Linked DNA regions of Homo sapiens: region 2 is linked to region 1. The links are contacts of gene promoters, found by promoter capture Hi-C in blood cells and fetal thymus (Javierre and others, 2016). All regions are on one chromosome and are shown on one strand. The core of a region is centred on a gene start or on the middle of the fragment in contact, and the rest is flanking DNA. Distances in the headings are between cores, read along the strand shown.

What was found. Contacts are between HindIII fragments. The CHiCAGO score rates a contact against its expected background, and 5 or more counts as called.
Region 2: a fragment that was not itself captured here is called in contact with the fragment with the promoter of H1-8 in region 1 in 1 of 17 cell types (M1 macrophages); the score reaches 5.8 in M1 macrophages.

Annotation. Positions count from the first base shown.
Region 1 is chr3:129,541,835-129,544,635 of GRCh38, forward strand. H1-8 (H1.8 linker histone) reads left to right here and starts at 1,341. Exons shown (of 5, transcript NM_153833.3): 1 at 1,341-1,472. The coding sequence starts at 1,385. RefSeq lists an enhancer at 880-1,381. The HindIII fragment of the contact is 913 bases long and covers 1,164-2,076 here.
Region 2 is chr3:129,825,230-129,827,940 of GRCh38, forward strand. TMCC1 (transmembrane and coiled-coil domain family 1) reads right to left here. Exons shown (of 7, transcript NM_001017395.5): 4 at 2,574-2,711. Among named protein-coding and RNA genes, the nearest start is that of TMCC1, 67 kb to the right of the region's middle. The HindIII fragment of the contact is 2,654 bases long and covers 135-2,711 here.

The sequences.
Region 1 (2,801 bases), core at 91-2,590:
CACCATGCCCAGCTAATTTTTGTATTTTTTGGTAGAGACAGGATTTCACTTTTTTGCCTAGGCTGGTCTTGAACTCCTGGGCTCAAGCGATCCTCCTGCCTCAGCCTCCCGAAGTTCTGGGATTACAGGTATGAGCCACCATGCCTGGCCTCTCATCCTTGTTTTAATCCATCTTGTCATTTTATATTATATTATATTATTTTATTTTATTTTTATTTACTTATTTTTGAGACACAGTTTCGCTCTTGTTGCCCAGGCTGGAGTGCAATGGCTCGATCCTGGTTCACTGCAGTCTCCAGCTCCCAGGTTCAAGTGATTCTCCTGCCTCAGCCTCCCAAGTAGCTGGGACTACAGGTGCACACCACCACGCCCAGCTAATTTTGTATTTTTAGTAGAGATGAAGTTTTACCATGTTGGCCAGGCTGGTCTCAAACTCCTGACCTCAGGTGATCCGCCCACCTCAGCCTCCCAAAGTGCTAGGATTACAGGCCTGAGCCACCGCACCAGCCCACCTTGTCATTTTAGATGGCTGCAGAATATTCTGCAGAAAGGGTGTGATTTAGCCAGGCCTTGGGTGTTTGCTTGGAAAGTTTTTTTTTTTTGTCTGTCAATTTGATGGGAAAAAGTAGTATTTCACCATTGTTTCAATTTGAATTTTCTCAAATGCCAAGGAAGTTGAGTGTCCATTTTCCTGTTTCTGTTCCTCACCCTTTAGGCTGGTGAATTGCCTGTTTATATTCTTTGTCCATTGTCCCAGTGGATGTTGTCCTTATCTATGAAGACTTTTGTGAAGCATCCTCCGTTATTGATTTATTTCTTTAAAAACAAAACCAAAGGAGGGCATAGGCCCAGAGAGCCTGGCTGGCCTCAGAAGGGGCTACTCTGATTGAGGGGCATGTGCTCTGGGCAAAAGTAGCAGTTGGGCTGCCTCCAACTGCTACTTTTTGAGAAATTGAGGCCAGCAGTGGCGTGGGGCAGCCCATTGCCCACCTGGTAGGATTAGAGGGCCGCCTCAGCGGCCTCCCTGACAACACAGGTGACCCCAATTCCTCATCAGCATCTCCAGCCCCTGGTGGGCAGAGGGCACAGGCGAGATCAAGCATCTCAGCTCCCAACATTGCACCATGGGGACTGAGACCCAGAGAAGTCAAGCGACACCCCCAAGCTTACACAGGAGTGGGTAGTCCAGCTGGGGCTCCCTACAGAAGGCAGGATGCTGTGCCCCATTCCACACCTCCAGCCCCAGTCAGCAGCTTGGAGCACTCCCAGCCCAATCAGGGCTGATTGGAGTGGTGGGGGTGGGCTGCTGGTATATAAGCCTAGTGGGCAGGCCCAGCAGCCTCACACCCGGGTGAGGGGTCTGCTGGCTGCACCTGTCGGTCTCATGGCTCCTGGGAGCGTCACCAGCGACATCTCACCCTCCTCGACTTCCACAGCAGGATCATCCAGGTCTCCTGAATCTGAAAAGCCAGGTGAGCAAGAGGAGGCAGCTCCTCCCTCATCCCTGCGAGCCCACTCCCTGGGTTGCCTTTGATGCTCCACCCCTGCTTCTCGTTCTTTCCCAGCCTGGCCCCAGCACCTACCCAGCACCCACCCAGCACTCACCCAGCACTCACCCAGCACCCACCCAGCACCAAGCTGCTGAGCTCAACTGCCTTTTGGCTGAAGAGCTGATCTACAGGTAGCAAGGCCAGGTAGGGCCTGGGGGCTGGGGCCGGCCTCGCTCAGGGAAGAGCCACAGGGCCTTCCAGCTGGAGCCCGTTTCCTGCTGGGACCGTAGCCCGTAGCCAGGCTGCAGCTGTGGGCAGCTAGTTGGAGGGACTGGGGCAGGAGCATTTTATGCAGGGCTAGGCATTCCGATTTTCAACCAAAAAACACCTCAGGGTTTATCTGGACATGAGGGTGCACCGAGGCAAACCAGGCCCAGTTCACTCCCTCGAGGACCTCCCGGTCTGATGGGGAAGCCTGGCCCATGGCTTGTTGCTGTTTGCTAATGTGATGTGTGCTTCAGTGGCGGTAATCCAGAGCTGGAGGAGCCCAGAGGAGTCCTCTAACCCACTCTGGGAGGTCAGGGAAAGCTTCCTAGAAGAGGTGACCCTGAAGGATGGGTGTGCCTCAGCCGGGGGAAGTGTTCTATTTGCCAAGACACCTAGGGAGATAGGGAGGGGGTCCAGGTGCCGAGAAGTAAAAGGGCAGAGTTAACTGGGAAGTCAGAGGTGTCCAAACCAAGGTGCATTTTGAGCCTTGAAGGATGAGTGAGAGCAGCCTGCATGACCGGGAGGAGAGAGGCAGCCCAGGCAGAGGAAACGGCATGGGCTAAGGCCCAGAGGCCAGCGCACCAGCAGCTTGTCTCGGAAGCTGCATCTTCCTTCTGGGAAGGAGGGAAGTGCTGGGGCAGTGCTAGGGGAGCAGTGGGAGGGCCTCCAAGGCGGTCTTCAGTTAGGTCAACTTTTATCTTGAACAGGGAGCCATGGACGGTTTCAAGCAGGGAGGTGAGGGGTGTGAGATACAGCGAGGAGAATGCATGCGGTGGGGAAGAGGCAGTGGGGAGGAGGCTGGGGCTGGGGAGTTGGAGAGGAGAGGCCAGAATATGGAGAGAAAAGCCTATGGGGAGGCCTCGAGTGGGTGTGGTGAGGAGGAAAGGGCCCAGAATGCCCCCAGTTCTTGCTTGGATGTTGGGTAGGTATGGGCAGTGGGGGCATGGGGCATTCCTGGAAGAGAGAGGAGGGGCAGATTTGGGGGGCTGAGCTCTGTTCTGGACATCCTGGTATACAGCAGGCATGGAATAGCTGCCGAATGAG
Region 2 (2,711 bases), core at 212-2,711, 280 kb after region 1:
CTAATTCAAACTTAGAAATCTTTTTATTTGAACACATACATCTCCCTCAAACTTCTTCCACTTTTCTCTATCTTCCAGGTACAGCCAGGCATTACAAAAATTTCCCTTTCCTTCTGCCTATAAGTAATCCAAAAAGCTTCCCTCATTGCAGCCTAATATACACTGCTTTTCCTAAATCTGGCTATAAATAAGAAGATGATATAGTGAGCTCTGAAGTGATATTAACCTTAATAGAGAACCTGAATCCATAACTTCCAAACTTTCCCTTTAGAAGCTCCGAAGTTTACATCTATCTTTTTTGGTGGGGGTGGGTGGTAGGGGGTTGAGACAGGGTCTTGCTTTGTTGCCCAGCCTGGAGTGCAGCAATAAAAAGGAACAAACTATCAACACATTCAACAACAGTTGAATCAACAACAGTTGAAAAGTATTACACTAAATGAAAGAAGTCAAACACAAAAGACTGCATGATCTAATTTTTTAGGAAATTCTAGAAAAGGCAAAACTATAGCAATAGAAAGCAGATCAGCGGCTACCAGAGGCCACCGGTTGGGTAAGAGGGACTGACTGCAGCCAAGGGGCATGAGAAATCATTATTTGGGGGTAATGGGAATGTTCTATATAATGACTGTGTTACTATAAAACTACACATTTTTCAAAACTAGTCAAGATGTACACTTAAAACTGGTGGATTTTACTGTAAGCATATGCTAATAAAGTTGACAAAGCATTAAAGAAACAATGTTATGAAAAAAGTTCTCACTTTGCCCTCTTTCTCTTGAAGTTTTCCAATAAAATCTGCTTTACTTACACTTTTTCTTTTTAACATAAAAGTCTATAATCCCAGAATCACTAGCTGTAAATTCCTTAATGTTCTCTGGTAAAGGCTGAAGATTAAGACAAGGTACATAGCTGCACTGTCAATCTTTACTGCCAACTAGTTTGGGTAATCAGTGACCAAATATTCTTTTTATTTCAAAGATAACTAATATAGGCTGGACACGGTGGCTCATGCCTGTAACCTCAGCACTTTGGGAGGCTGAGGTGGATGGATCACTTGAACTCAGGAGTTTGAGACTGGCCTGGGCAACAAGGCAAAATCTCCTCTCTACAAAAAAAAAAAAAAAAAAATTGGCCAGACATGCTGGCATGCGCCTGTAGTACCAGCTACTCAGGAGGCTGAGGTGGGATGATCACCTGAGTCTGGGGAGGTTAAGGCTGCAGTGAGCCACGATCACACCACTGCACCCCAGCCTAGGTGACAGGGTAAGACCCTGTCTCCAAAAAAAATAAAATGAATATACACATAAATATGTGGTACTTTTCCCCATTTAAATTTTTTGAATTTTAATTCACATCATTATTTTGACAGGTTTAAAGTGATTTACTGTCCATTATCTATATGTTTTAAATATCATATTTAGGTAGGAAAGGTTTAAAGTTCTAGACTCAATATTTATATTTCCAGGTAACTTAATATCCAATAAAAAAAAAACCTTAGGAAAAGTTTAAGGTACTAGACTCAGTATTTATATTTCCAGGTAACTTAATATCCAATAAAAAAAAACCTAACTGTACCGCAAGCAGACACAGAATGAAAACGATCAAACAAAAACCTTAAGGAATACACAAAAGTAATGCTGAAAGATAGTTGAATGGTAACTTACAAGGCAGACCTAGCCCACAAATGTGTTCAGTGTGGCTTGCATATCTGTTAAAAATCAAGAGATTTCCCATCTAGATTTCCAGTTTCTCTTGAAAAAAATCAGAAGCTCTGGCAAGACTGTGCCCACAGTACTAAATTTCAACCATCAGCTAAAGCTAAGACATTGCCTCTGTTAAACAAAGCAGGAACTCCTCAGTTTGTCCAAGCTCCATAACACCTAAGTTCACTCATTGTCACTACCTGCATGGCTACGCGTACCTGAGTTTTCAAACCCTAGCAGGACTATTTCTTCTATGTGCCTCAACTAACCATAACTGAGAGTTATATGGAAAAAGTTTCTCCTAGATTTAATATGCCTGGTTTTGGGTAAACCCAAAACAATCTGTTTATTAATAGTACACTATAATAATGTATATGCTCTACTGTGGCATGCAAAATGTAAAATGAATGCTGCTGATGTACTACAAAGTATATGAAAATTATAACCAACTTAGTGTACTTCCATGGTAAGCACAAACTCAGATTCTAGAACTTTATTCACTACATTCATTAATGTAAGAAAGCCATCTCCATGTGCAAAATCAAAACAATAAGAAACAAAGCATCTTTATTGCTCTACCATAAAACTGACCCTCAAATATACAGAAAGAATACATGAAATATACTTAAGGTTTTAACGAAAGGATAAAATAAAATATAGCACTATGTTAGGAAGGAAATAGGAATATAATTCTAAGCATTCATTCATTAGCTATAATTATTATTTACCCATTTGAAAAGGGGAAAAATTCTTTTACCACAACTTTAAGGTATTTGCTGAGATATCTTTTTAGTTACCAAAGGAAAGTCTGGAGAGTCCTAGGTATGAAAAACAGTAAGTTAACAGAAAAACAAAATCTTACAAACTTACCCGCTCCGCAGTTCCCTCCTCTCCTGGTAGACATGCAGCAGCAGCAGCAGCAGCAGCACAAGCTATTTCCATCATAGCAGAGCTGGTAGGTGCATCAGTTGTGGATGAAGACCTGGGTCGGCCTGACTGCATAACAGC